5 separate regions of the Homo sapiens genome follow, and all the other regions are linked to region 1. Evidence: promoter capture Hi-C in 16 types of primary human blood cells and fetal thymus (Javierre and others, 2016). All regions are on one chromosome and are shown on one strand. The core of a region is centred on a gene start or on the middle of the fragment in contact, and the rest is flanking DNA. Distances in the headings are between cores, read along the strand shown.

Region 1 (2,771 bases), core at 78-2,577:
ACCTGAGTGTAGTGGCCACAGACTTTTTTGCATATCCGAGTCTTGAAGTCATAGTCCTGGATTTCGTCATACCAGTTTGTGATGGCGGAAGACACAGAAAAAATGGGCACAGACCCAGTCCAGATGTTCTCTCCCAGTGAAGTGAAGTTTGGGTGCAGCTTGTGGGGTGGCTTCAGCCGTGTATTATGTGAAAACTGGCAATTGCTGGCCCATGCTTTTGCAATTTGGGCTAGTGCTGGGTCCCAAGTCTGCAAAAATAAACATTAAACAATAGGGGGTTCATCTGAAATGTAACTGGGGTGAGTACAGTGGGAATTTGAATGGAAAACGAGGTGAGATAAGGAGAGAAGATACCACTGCATATGAGTCCTCTATAAATATGGTCTTCAAGCACTGAGTAGGGCTGGTAGGAAACGTGACAATTTAGTTTCATGGAATTTAGAATCTAAGTGAGGAAAACTGACATTTCACTGAAGGCTAATTGTGGGCAAAATAGTGTGTGCCGTGTTTCACAACATTATTCCATAACCACAACAGCCCATATCCTAAGAAGTTCAGAAAGGTTAAAAACCAGCTTAAAGCCACAGATCTGAAATTCAATCCCAAGCCTTACTGAATCAAAATCCCATCCTTTCCCCAGATGCCATTCTGCCTACCTGAGCAACTCAGTACTTTGTCAGCAGCAAAAAAAGTAAATTTAGAGACAAAAAAAAAAAAAAAAAAAGAAAACCAAATCACAAAAATTAACAGGGAGGAAGATAACAAAAAGAGAAGTAAAATCCACTGAAAACCAGAAAACAGGAAGTGTCCAAAGAGAAGTAAAATGTGCTGTGGCACTTGCTTATAACAACAGTTGGGTAGACAGAGCTAAACTGGATGTGTTTTGATCACAGACTGTGAATTTACTGCATACATTAATCACAATGAAAAAAAAATCATTCAGTATTACGAAGGTATTAACACCAAAGTCAATACACATTAGTTGTTTCTGACTGACTGACGCCACAATTAATGATATTTTCCTTACCATGTATAGCATATCACTGGCTGTTGGTTTCACCTCTGATCGGAACTTGTTATGGATTCGAACGCAGTCTTTGATGAAATCTTCATTTTCGATATCTGGCAAAATATTTGCTGTGTGTGAATAATTGGAGACAAAAGAAACCATCCAGGCTATTGTAGCAAGTGTGACACGCATGCTTTGTCTGGCATGGAGCCTTGGGAGGCTGCAGTCCAGAGCCGCCGCAGTTTCTGAGAGTGTGATTGCCTGAGTGCTCAGCCCACAGCTTTGCAAACCTAGCCGACTTCAGCTTTGAGAAAACAGAACAGAGCATGAGTTCATCACTAGTTTTAAGAAACGGGTTTCTCCATATATGGTGTGCAGCTCACTTTGTGTTCTTAACCCTGTCTTTTCAGTGGTTTTCAGTGACACAGCACCTATTACGACATAGATTTTTATGAGGCTGTGTCAGACTTCCTTTTGAATTGGGAGATATTTCCAAAGAAAATTCTGAAGTCTCCAGGAATAATAGTCTCCAATTTTTAATGGAGGTTGCGGTGATAAAATGAAAATATCTCTTACTTCTATAAATGCCTCGCAAAATGCTTTCAGAAATCTTTTTCTTTTTAGAGTCATATCAACACATAGTGGTTGGAATATCTGGTTAACATCATAAACTTGACCTAGAATTCATTCACGATGGTAGAAACATGTAAGCGTGTATGTGTGTGTGTGTGTGTGTGTGTGAGAGAGAGAGAGGGAGAGAAAGAGAGAGAGAGAGAAAGAGAGAGAGGGATTGAGAGGGAGAATAGTAGAAAGAATACAGGACTCAAGTTGAGAATTTAGTTTCTGTTTCTAACTAGCTGTAAGACCTTGGACAGGATACAAAACTCTCTAAACCTCAGCCACCTATTGAATGAGACTATGGGACCTTTTCTGCTTCCTTAATTACAGAGGTTTGGCAGGATCAAATGAACTAGCTAATATTAAATTCCTGCCTTGTATATTCACCTTAGTAATACAGAAATAAAAACACAGTCACTGGCCCCAAGGAGCTTACAGTGGTAAGAGCTGTGAGATGGTGATGACAAGGATGTTACAACAGGGGCTGTTGGAGATCTGGATATAGGAAAGCACAGGTAGATATGGACACACAAGAGAGCATACTTAACCCATTCTGGAAACGGCAGAGCCGGCCTACATACAGCAGGTGAGGTCTTTGCTGAGGCTAGAATCAGCTAGGTGTTGATCAAGTGAAAAAGCGCTGGAGAGGAGAAGGGAATTAGAGGGATAGGAACTATATATCTAGTTGTGAAATTGAAGACATGGTGTTATGGCAAGAATAGAGCAAGAACCTCTCCATATTGTCTCCCTCTGTAAATATGGTCTGTAAATAAGTAGTGATTCTGACTGGTAGAAAACTTGATACCTGGTGTCATGGAATTCAGAATCCAAATGATGCTTTCATGCCACTTGGGGGAGAGAAGTTAAGAGTCAGATCAGGAAGGATTTCTCAATTCTGCTAATGATTTTTTATTTTATCACCAAAGTCATGGGAAGTTATTGGAGGATTTTAGCTGTAGGTGGGGTTTAGACCTGGTTTTAGAAAACACGTGTATTTTAGAAAATTAAGAGAGATGGAAAATGGAATGAGGTGGGGAAATATTTCTAATGCAAACAAAAAGTAAAGAAACATTCCAGGCACACCTGTAGCCCCACCTACTCAGAAAGTTGAGGTGGGAGGATAGCTTGATCCCCACAATTTGAG
Region 2 (2,771 bases), core at 77-2,576, 1.6 Mb before region 1:
GGGGGTAGGGACATGTCTGTACATTTAAGAATGTCTGATGCTTTAAGAAGGCTGTCTCACATTTCAGTTGAGGGATATCTTACAAAATACTTGACCAATACTACTCAAAAATGTCCAGGTATCAAAAATGAGGAAAGTATGAGAAACTGTCATAGCCAAGAGGAGCCTAGAGACATAGGAACTAAAGGTAATGTGGTATCCTGAACAGAAAAAAGGGCCATTAGGAAAAAATTAAGTAAATCTGAATAAAGTAATGACTTGAGCTCAGAAGAATGTACCAATATTAGATCATTAATTTCAAAAAATATTCTATACTAACACAAAATGTTAATAGTGGGTGAAATTGGGTGCTGAATATATGGGAATTCTTGGTACTATCTCAATTTTTCTGTAAATTGAAAACTTCTAAACAATAAAGTCTGTTTTGTAAAAAGTCCATCTCTACCAACATTCATATTTTAAACAAGAAACTGTAGGATGAAAGAAGTGAAACATTTAATACAGATCAGTGGTGTTGAGGAAATTTTCTAGACTGTCTCCCAGAATGCTAGTCCCTATTGCAAAGAACTACTTTTTTATATAAAGCTTTTTCCCTCCTAATTATTTGCAATTTGCCGAAAAGGGAACACCAAAAAACATTTCCGGATTTGCCACACACACAAAACAAACAAACAAAAAAAAGTTAGAAAAACTTCTGGTTTGGCTTCCAGTCTTGTCTCCAGGGCTAACTGGCGTGCCATCTGCTCGCAGCAGAGCGGTAACCATGGTTCATGTGTCACACCAGCGTGCGATGTTAAGAAGTTTGCCCCGGCAAGTCTGGACAACTCCGCTTCCGCACAGGTTGCTGAGGGCGGGCGGGGATGGCGGCAGCAGCATCCAGAGGGTGTAGATCGTTCTTCCAAACCCCATCTGCTTTCCTGTCCTCTGGCTGTGCCCGGGGTCCCCGGGCGCGGCAAGCCGCGGGGACGTGCGCGGGTCTTCTATGCATAACAAAAGAGCCCTCCTCCTCCTCTTCCTTCTCCCGCCGCCCCGCGCCGCCCCGCGCCGCCCCCACCTTGGCTTCCCGCGGCCGCCGGGGCCCGCGTCCCCAGCAGGAATTGGCTCCCGGGCCCGAGGTTTCCAGGTACCCGGAAGGGGGAGGGGGCCGAGGCGGCAACAATTGGGCGGGTGAGGGCAAAACGCGCGGCTCGGAGCGCCAAGACTCCGAGGGGCGGTGAGCCCGGGCCGTGCCGCCGCACGATTGGCCGGGGCCGCCCCGCCGGCCGCCGCTGATTGGTGGATTCTCAAATTCGGTCTCAAGGCGCCAGAGGAGGTGTTTTAGCGGGGACTACGATCCAGGCTGGAGTTGCGCTCGGCCGGTCTGAGCGCTGGCGCTGCCCGGACGCCGCGGGGTCCCCGCCAGCCCAGGGCACTCGGCGCGGGGATCTGCGCGCCTCGCTCTCCCTTCCCGATGCCGCCGCCCGGCTGCTGATCGCCGCACCACCTTCCCTCATCGGCTTGGGTCCGTGGAGGTCCCTGCAGAGGCAGGAAGCCTCCTTAGGAAAGCAGGGGTAAGCGTGCGGCCCCAGCGCCAGTGGGGAGGCGGGAATTGGGATACAGGGCCCACTCCCGCCCCGGCTGCCAGCCTGCCACTCCTCACGTCCCCCGGCTGGCGAGGGCTCGAGGTGTTTCTGCCGGGGAACCCGGTGCGCAGAGGGTGTGCCGGGTGCAGCTCTCACTCCGGCCCGGCAGTAGAGGGGATTTGCCCTTCCCCACAACTTGGAGCTTTCATTGGAGAAGTTTATTTGGGGGATCTGCTTGGAGGCCTGGGAAGGGGCTGCGCTCAGCGCTGAGTGGGTTTGGTCTAGCGATCGGGTTTCCTTCCCCCGATTCAAAACCCCTCAAAGCCGAATTCCTCTCAGTTCTTTGCGCCAAAATTAACTGACCTGGGAGACCCTGTACTTTTCTGACAGATTTGCCCAACACCCTTCCGACTTGGTAACTTTATTTTGCCATCTAGCTTTTCATAAGGAGTTACTATTTTTGTAGATTTTTTTCTTCCCAGATTTTCAGTATTACTAAGCACACTTTAGGTGTTTGAGTTTGTTCGCGTGAGTTTTAGAAAGTTGAGGGTGGCTACAACTCCTGGAAATGCCCAGGATGTGCTTAGAGAAGGGGGAATTTCATATTGACAAACAAGTAACACATATGTAGATATTTTTGTTTGAGGAAAAAATACCTAATTGCAAAATCATTTTCTAGTGTAATTGTGCATTACAGATGGAGGTAAATTGTTTAACACTAAAAGACCTGATCAGCCCCAGGCAGCCCAGACTAGATTTTGCAGTTGAAGATGGGGAAAATGCACAAAAGGTAAGCAAACATAAACACCTTAGTTTCTAATATGTTAAGGATGGTGATGTTGAATTCAATTAAGTGTTCCAACATGCCATTTGTATTTGTATTTAAGCATAATAATTAATATTGATAAACATTATAGAAACATTCTTTTTTAAAAATAGAGCCATCCAAACCATTATTGTTGGAATTCTACTCTCAGATATAGTGGGAAAAATAGGCAAGGTTACATGTAATGTTGTAACCAATTTATATAAGTCAAAAATATGCTGGCTACAGCAATCAAAGTTTATAATACAGTTGTCAAGGGTGGTGTAGCTAGTGCTCTGTAGGAATGCTAAGCCTCAGTTCCCAGGAAAATAGACCTTTGCAGGCATAAATGCTGGATTATTAAAGTGCTGTGAAATGTCTTCATACCAATGAACTAGCTCCCA
Region 3 (2,771 bases), core at 168-2,667, 1.3 Mb before region 1:
CTGGGCACGGTGGCTCATGCCTATAATCCCAGCACTTTGGGAGGCCAAGGCAGGCGGATCACCTGAGGTCGGGAGCTTGAGACCAGCCTGACCAACATGGAGAAAACCCCGTCTCTACTAAAAATACAAAATTAGCTGGGCGTGGTGGTGCATGTCTGTAATCCCAGCCACTCGACAGGCTGAGGCAGGAGAATCGCTTGAACCCGGGAGGCAGAGGTTGCAGTGAACAGAGATCATGCCACTGCACTCCAGCCTGGACAACAAGAGCGAAACTCTGCTCAAAAAAAAAAAAAAAAAAAAAAAAAATTGCGATTCCAACTTAAATATATTTTCCTATCCTAGTTCATCTTTTGGGAATTACCTGTTCATATCTTTTGGTCATTTTATTGTACTTGACTCCTGAAATCTGCTTAATATATTTGTATTACACTTTTATATATAGATTAATCTTTTTCATACTGATCTAAAGACTTCCATGTTTAGAACTGTTCATTTATGCTTTCAATATAATTCAGAGATTATACCCTTTATAGTCACATGTATTAATCTTTTCCTTGTGCTTTTTTGGTTTTCATTTTTATATTTCAATACTGCTACAATTATTAGTGCTATTCATGAAATATTTTCAGTTCTCTTCTCAGGTACAAAGTTGAACTGTACACCCTTGGCCCTTTGAAAGATAAGTGTGTCCAAGTGATTGACCATGTGATCTTAACCAATGGAATATGAATAAAAAGGATCTGTTGCTTTCAGAGAACAAGTTTAAGAGCCAACATGCAATTCCCCAGTCTCTCTTTCCATCTGCCAAGGAGACTGGCAATCTTCTAGAGAGTAGAGATAATCACTGGATAGAAAACCTACTATCCCACCCACAATGTATGTGTAGCATAACTACTAACATTTTTTTAAGGGACAGGGTCTCACTATGTTGCCCAGGCTAGAGTACAGTGGCTATGCACAGACGTGATCATCACCACTACAGCCTGGAACTCCTGGGCTCAAGCAATCCTCCTGTCTCAGCCTCCTGAGTAGTTGGTAGTACAGGTGCACACAACCACACTCAGCTAAGCCACTGAAATTTAGGGTTGTTACTGCAGCAAAACATAGCTTATCCGGACTAATATGATTCTGAGAGTTGTTTAGTTTGGTAAGTAGTGTGTAAATGGATCTATATAAATCATTTTCATTGTATTTTGGAGCTGGTTATAACTAGTATATGGTTTTACTACTAATGTTCACAGATTTATCTTATATCCAGCCACAATGTTAAAATATCATCTCTGATTTTAGATACCTTTGAATACTGTAAGAATACCATCAACTCTCCTGCGCGCGCACACACACACAAGAGACAGAGAGAGAGAGAGAGAGAGAGAGGGAGAGACAGAGTGTGTGTTTTCACTCTATGGCCGATGGCATTGGCAAAAACATCAAATGCAATATTGGAAAAGTAAAATGAGAATACTTCCTTATTTCCTATTATTTTTCCTCCATTTTTTAATAGTCAATGTATTTAGTGTTTCTTCATCATAAAGCTGTTCAATCATCCTTATTCAAATATATTCCAGGGAATGCATAACACTGTATATGGATAAAAATGCCCACTTGATTGGGCATAAAAATGCCAACAGGCTGTTACATTATAGAATATGGCCAATTTAATATTTCATTGGAGATTCTCGATTTCATCCTGTAAAGATTATGACCAGTATTATTTTTATGTATCTCCTAGTTGATGATAATATTATGAAAGTGACCTTCACTCTTCCCCTTGACCTCCCTTCTCTACCACAGGCCAACTGTTCTTATCAGCAGCCCACACTCAAGTCGTGGTGACATTTCCATTAGGGCCCAAAAAACTAGGGCAGACATAAAACGACTCTGGAAAATTTCAAGGAAGAAGTACCTTCAAGTATTTTAAGTTGTTTTATTTTGGTTTTTTAAATGTTTGCATCAAGTGCACATGTAAATTATCTAAATGTAATTACCAAAATGTAATTTGAATGGCAAAGATACGTAACTGAAAATCCTAAGAAGTATTGTAAACTATCTCTTAGGAGAAGTGCAAAAACCCCATCTTCGACTGAGAATAAGTAAAGACATTTAGGCATCTAGTTCAGCAGGCAACGGAGATCAATCAGGGAGTTTTGAGGAAGGAAGTAACAGAATTAGATATGCAATTTTAGAAGATCATCTAAAGATTTTTTTTTCCTTTCCACCATCCCCAAAATTTATACTTCCACCTTTCCTGTGCTATTTACTAGAAGGCATTTCTAACTATCAAAATGTCCAAGCTAGAAAAATTCAGCTGGGTGCAGTGGTGCATACCTATAATCCCCACAACTCATGAGGCTGATGGGGAAGGACCACATGCGGCCAGGAGTTTGAGACCAGCCTGAGGAACATAGTGAGACTGTCTCTAAAAATAAAAATTAAAAAGGCCAGGCACAGTGACTCATGCCTGTAATCCCAGCACTTTGGGAGGCCGAGGCGGGTGGACTGCTTGAGTTCAGGAGTTCAAGACCAGTGTGACCAACATGGTAAAACCCCATCTCTACTAAAATACAAAAATTAGCCAGGCATGGTGGCAGGTGCCTGCCATCCCAGCTACTCAGGGGGCTGAGGCAGGAGATTCACTTCAACCCAGATCGTGCCACTGCACTACAGCCTGGACGACAGAGCAAGACTCTGTCTCAAAAATAAATAAAAATAAAAATAAAAAAAATTAGCCAGGCTTAATGGCACACACCTGTAATCCCAGCAACTCAGGA
Region 4 (2,771 bases), core at 201-2,700, 1.1 Mb before region 1:
TCATAGGAATGCCATTCTGTCACCTTTGCCATATTCTATAAGTTAGATGCTTCACAGATTCCTCCCATATTCATGGGATGTAATTAACAGGGGCATTGATATCAGAAAGTGGGGGTCATTGGAGAATCAGCCTAGGTTCTGTCTGCCAGTCTTTCCTCAGGCCCTCCCATATGAAATATATGGTTTCTCCCCTTCCAAGGTTCCTGTATTAGTCCGTTTTCACACTGCTGATAAAGACATACCTGAGACTGGGAAGAAAAAGAGGTTTAATTGGACTTACATGGCTGGGGAGGCCTCAGAATCATGCTGAGAGGTGAAAGGTACTTCTTACATGGCGGCGGCAAGAGAAAATGAAGAAGATGCAGAAGTGGAAACCCCTGATAAAACCCCTGATAAAACCATCAGATATCGTGAGACTTATTTGCTACCATGAGAACAGTATGGGGGAACCTCCCCCATAATTCAAATTATCTCCCACCAGGGCCCCTCCCACAACCCATGGGAATTGTGGGAGTACAATTCAAGATGAGATTTGGGTGGGGACACAGAGACAAACCATATCAGTTCCCAAGAGTTTCATTCATTATAGCATCAGCTCAAATTCTAAAATTTCATCATGTGAATCAAGTCCAGGTGCAGATGAGCCTCCTACGTATAACCTGTTAAGTAAAGCTCCTGGACACAATTATTCTCTAACTATGGACCTCTGAAACCAAGGAAATGAGTTATCTGCCTCCAACACACCCAACATACAATGGTGGGACAGACACAGGATAATAGCTATAGACATTCCAGTTTAAAAATAGGGGAAATGGGTAGTAAAAAGGAGTCACTAGTCTATAGCAGTTTTGAAATACAACTGGATTTATTGGAAGTTCCTTAATTAAGTTTCTAGGCTTGGGAATGATTCTTCATGGCTCTTGGCTCTGCTTTCTGGGTTCTTGGTTCCACCATCTGAGTCATTCTTCCTTTTTCATGGAAGGTAGCATGTGTTTGCAGATGAGTAGTTTTATCAGCCTGCTTTCTGCCAGTAAAATTTTGGAGGTCTGACAGCCTCTTTTCATTTTCTAGTCTTTCTGTCTGTCTTATTCCAAGTTGGCACTGTTTCTGCAGAAATAATTTTCTCAAGAATGTTGTGGTTCTTTCTGTATTTCAGTGGCATTCACTCTTATCAGACAAAGGCCACATCTACAGATTGTTTCAAAAATAATTCCATCTCCTTTAAGCTTCCTAGAGGCTCAATAGTGTGATTGAGAGGATCTGAGGCATACCCTTAGATCTTTTCAAATCTAAGGGCCGTATCTTGAAATACCCCTGAGTACTCTGACCTTTGATCTTTTGGGGGCTTTAAAAAAGATTATAGAGTAACTTCAAGTGCATTTTCTCTAGAGTAGGCTTTTCTGACAGTGCCCAAAAGCCATCTCCAACTGTTAATATTTTTTGCCATCTGGGGAAGATGAGGATTTTTTAAATTATCAAGTCCTGATTCCTTTTTGCTTAATAGTTCTTCTCTCAATTTGTCTCTTTTCTTGAATTTTCCTGTAAGTAGCAAGAAGAAACCAGTTGTCCCCTTCAACACTTTGCTTGGAAATCTCCTTAACTATATAACCAAATTCATCCATTTACAAGTTCTGCTTTCAACGTAATTGCAAGAAATAATTTCACTAAGCTTTACGCCAGTACATAACAAGGATCTCCCTTCTTCCAGTTTCCTATAGCATGTTCCTTACTTCCTTCTGAGTCCTCAACAGCAGTCTTCAATATCCACATTTCTACTGAGAGTTTGTTCGCAGTGATTTGGGATTTGTCTATCATACTTTTCAAGCATTCTTCTAGTCTCTGTCCACTGATCAGTTTCAAAGCCACAGACATATTTTTACATATTTATTACAGTAGCATTCTACCTCTAGGCACCAAAATCTCTATTAGTTTTCCAATTCGATGTAACAAATTAACACAAGTTGAACACATTAAAATAACACACATTTACTATCTCTCTTTCTGTAGGTCAGGAGTCCAGATACACCTTAGTTGGGTTTTCTACTTTGGGGTCTCTCCAGGCTACAGTGAAGGTGTTGGTTGGACCATGTTCCCATCTGAAAGCCTGAAGAAAGAAGAATCTTCTTCCAAACTCTCTCAAGTTGTTGGGAGAATTCATTTCCTTACAGTCACAGGACTGAGAGCTTCAAGATTTTGTTTTGTTTTGTTTCTGTTGGCTCTCAGCTTCTACAAGCCACCTCTGAGTTCTTTGCCACATGGTCCTCTCCGATAGGCAGTTCATAACATGACAACTTGTTTCTTCAAGACCAGCAGGAAAGTGAGAGAGTGAGTCGGCTATCAAGACAGATTCTTACATAATATAACATAATCATGGGAGTGATATCCCATCACATTTGTCATATATTGTAATGCATGTATTACATTACATCATGGGAGTAACATCCTATCACCTTTGCCTTATTCTTCTGGCTGGAAGCAGTTCACAAGTTCTACCCAGTCTTACGGTGAGGGGCATAAAGAAGGTCATTAATACCAGAAGGCAGAGATCATTGGGGGTTACCTTAGGATATGTCTGCCACATTGGGGGAAGGCAGACAATTCTAGGTAGCTATTCAAAGATCCAGAGAAATGAGCCTGAGTTACCTACAACAATGTTCAGATTGATTAATGTATTCTTGAGTTAGCTTTCCTTCCTTTCATGTCTTAATTTTCCTAGCCCCTCACTCCTATTCACTGGGATCTCTTCCCAAAATCAACTATCCGCACAGAAG
Region 5 (2,771 bases), core at 183-2,682, 1.0 Mb before region 1:
ACTTCTTCCAAATTCCTGCGAATGTTGGTATTTTGACCTCCTCCTGTGACTCACAAGTGTACTTAGTGACATTTAGAATGGTGAATCTTTTCCATTAGGTTTTCAAACTTTGCCCAGATCCATCAGAGGAATCACTATCTCTGGCAGCTTATGGCCTTACTGAATGTATTTCTTAAATAATAAGACATGGAAGTTAAAATTACTCCCTGATTCATGGACTGCAGAATAGATGTTGCGTTAGAGATGAAAACAACATTAATCTTTTTGTACATCTCCACCAGAACTTTTGGGTGACCAAGTGCATTGTCAGTGAGTGGTAATATTTTGAAAGGAATATTGTTTCTTAGCAGTAGTCTCAACAGTGAGCTTAAAATTTTAGTAAACCATGCTGTAAACAGATGTGCTATCATACAGGCTTTGTTGTTTTATTTATAGTGCACAGGCAGAGTAGTTACAGCATAATTCTTGAAAGGGCCCTAGAATTTTTGGAATGGTAAATGAACATTGGCTTCAACTTCAAACCACCAGCTGCATTAGCCCCTAACAAGAGAGTCAGTTTGTCCTTTGCAGCTTTGAAGTCTGGCATTGACTTCTCCTCTCTAGATATGAAAGTCCTTAATGGCATCTTCTAATAGAAGGCTATTTCATCTATATTGAAAACCTGTTGTTTAGTGTAGCCATGTTCATCAATGATCTTAGCTAGATCTTTTGGATAACTTACTGCAGTTTCTCCAAGTAGCACTTGCTACTTCACCTTGCATTTTGATGTTATAGAGATGGCTTCTTTCCTTAAACCTCATGAACCAACCTCTGCTGGCTTGAAACTTCTCTTCTGCAGCTTTCTCACCTCTCTCAGCCTGTATAGAATTGAAGAGAGTTAGGGCCTTGCCTATATAATTAGCCTGATCTTCTATCCAGACCACTCAAACTTGCTGTATATCAGCAATAAGGCTGTTTTGCTTTCTTATTTGTGTGTTCATTGGAATAGGACTTTTAATTTCTTCCAAGAACTTTTACTTTGCATTCACAACATGGCTGTTTGGTGTAAGAGGCCATGCTTCTGGCTTTTGACATGCCTTCCTCACTAAGCTTAATCATTTTTAGCTTTTGATTTAAAGTGAAATATGTGGGTCTTCCTTTTACTTGAACACTTAGAGGCCTTTGTAGTGTTATTAATTGGACTAATTTCAATATTATTGTGACTGATGGAATAGAGAAGAGCCGGGAGAAAGAGAAAATGGGAGAATGGCAGATGGGTGGAACAGTCAAAACCTCCTACATTTATCAGTTCAGTTACTTGTTTTATATGGCTGCAGTTTGTGGTGCCCCAAAATGATTACAATAGTAATATCAAGGATTATTGATCACAGATTGCTGAACAGATACTTTAATGAAAAGGGTTGAAATATTTGAGAGTTACCAAACTATGACACAGAGACACAAAGTGAGCACATGCTGTTGGAAAAGTACCGATAGACTTACTTGCTGCAAGGCTGTCACCAACCTTCATTTTGTAAAAAAGGCAGTATCTCTTTGTGCAGTAAAGCGAAACACAATAAAACAAGGCATGCCTGTAGATATACATATTCATGGTAAAAATGGAAATATACAGAAGCAAAGAGTATCTTATATATATAAAATGTTCCATCACTCACATTTCCCACCTTATGTGTTGTGATCCTCTTTCCAGTTTAGTATATATAGATCTACTTCATTTTTTAAAATTGCTGCATGATATTCTATTGTATGTCTGTAATATAATTTAAGGAAGCTTCTAGCCATCAACATTTAAGTTGTTTCTAGTTTTTTTCATCAGATTTATTACTGTGTTGGAATTGTTTATATATTTCTGGGCATTTGTATATCTGTGGGAAAATTTCTAGTCTTGAAATTGCTGGATTAAAACATACATATTTTTAATTGTCCTTCAAAAAATTGTCCTGATTTATATTCTCATAACAAAAGTACATGAGAATATCTGTTTCCCCACATTCTCTCCCATGATGGATTTTAGCATACTTTTTAGTTTTTACCAATGTAATAATGAAAAACTAATTTATTTCATTAGTTGTAAGTAGATTTATGCATCCTTTCAAATTTTAGGCAGTCTCATGTTTAACCTTGCTCTTACTATTTTTCTTCACTTGGAATATTTTTTTCTTCTTTCATTTTTCTCTGAACCTTTACCATTCTTCAAGCCCATGTCAATTTTTTTTTTAATTATTGAATTTCCAAATAACCTCAGACTAAAATGATTTTTCCCTTCTAACAAACTCAATGCTTTATTTCTACTTGTCACAGTTTTATACCAGTCCTAATAAATATCATTTTCTTATTTTAGGATTTGCAGATTTACAGAATGGCTGCACATTAATGGAAAGAGAAGCATAAACCTATCTTCTTTCATTATGGAGGGAGGTTTGGCAGATGGAGAACCTGATCGAACTTCGGTGAGTAGTTCATATATGACATAGGTTCTATCATCTGTAACTGTGAAGTGTTTGATGTAAGCTAGGGTTTTGTTTTTAAAATATATTAACAACAAACTTTTAAAAAGTATTTTTAAAATAATGCTTTAACTCCTTGAGAATTACAGATACTTTAAATGATATGAAAATTACAGATAGCTAGCTAGGCATGGTGGCTCACACCTGTAATCCTAGAACTTTGGGAGGCCGAGATGGGTGGATTACCTGAGCTCAGGAGTTCAAGACCAGCCTGGGCAACAATGGCGAAACCCTGTCTCTATTAAAAATACAAAAATTAGCCAG

The links. The method cuts DNA at HindIII sites, captures the fragments that hold promoters and counts their contacts. A CHiCAGO score of 5 or more calls a contact.
Region 2: the fragment with the promoter of E2F7 here is called in contact with the fragment with the promoter of GLIPR1 in region 1 in 1 of 17 cell types (fetal thymus); the score reaches 5.3 in fetal thymus.
Region 3: a contact is called between a fragment that was not itself captured here and the fragment with the promoter of GLIPR1 in region 1, in 2 of 17 cell types (total B cells and naive B cells). The highest score is 11.7, in total B cells.
Region 4: a fragment that was not itself captured here is called in contact with the fragment with the promoter of GLIPR1 in region 1 in 2 of 17 cell types (M0 macrophages and monocytes); the score reaches 5.9 in M0 macrophages.
Region 5: a fragment that was not itself captured here is called in contact with the fragment with the promoter of GLIPR1 in region 1 in 1 of 17 cell types (naive B cells); the score reaches 5.1 in naive B cells.

The regions. Positions count from the first base shown.
Region 1 is chr12:75,479,311-75,482,081 of GRCh38, reverse strand. It overlaps GLIPR1 (GLI pathogenesis related 1), which reads right to left and starts at 1,327. Exons shown (of 6, transcript NM_006851.3): 1 at 1,028-1,327; 2 at 3-248. The coding sequence starts at 1,201. The HindIII fragment of the contact is 5,495 bases long and covers 1-2,771 here.
Region 2 is chr12:77,064,124-77,066,894 of GRCh38, reverse strand. E2F7 (E2F transcription factor 7) reads left to right here and starts at 1,326. Exons shown (of 13, transcript NM_203394.3): 1 at 1,326-1,550; 2 at 2,260-2,352. The coding sequence starts at 2,260. RefSeq lists enhancers at 707-936, 672-1,378 and silencers at 987-1,416, 1,437-1,486. The HindIII fragment of the contact is 4,360 bases long and covers 588-2,771 here.
Region 3 is chr12:76,786,224-76,788,994 of GRCh38, reverse strand. All of the region lies in intron 1 of ZDHHC17 (zDHHC palmitoyltransferase 17), which reads right to left. Among named protein-coding and RNA genes, the nearest start is that of ZDHHC17, 23 kb to the right of the region's middle. The HindIII fragment of the contact is 5,143 bases long and covers 1-2,771 here.
Region 4 is chr12:76,589,908-76,592,678 of GRCh38, reverse strand. The region is part of intron 3 of LOC105369850 (a long non-coding RNA gene); the gene reads right to left. Among named protein-coding and RNA genes, the nearest start is that of OSBPL8, 32 kb to the right of the region's middle. The HindIII fragment of the contact is 443 bases long and covers 1,229-1,671 here.
Region 5 is chr12:76,487,189-76,489,959 of GRCh38, reverse strand. It overlaps OSBPL8 (oxysterol binding protein like 8), which reads left to right. Exons shown (of 24, transcript NM_020841.5): 2 at 2,342-2,450. The coding sequence starts at 2,409. Among named protein-coding and RNA genes, the nearest start is that of OSBPL8, 71 kb to the left of the region's middle. The HindIII fragment of the contact is 682 bases long and covers 1,092-1,773 here.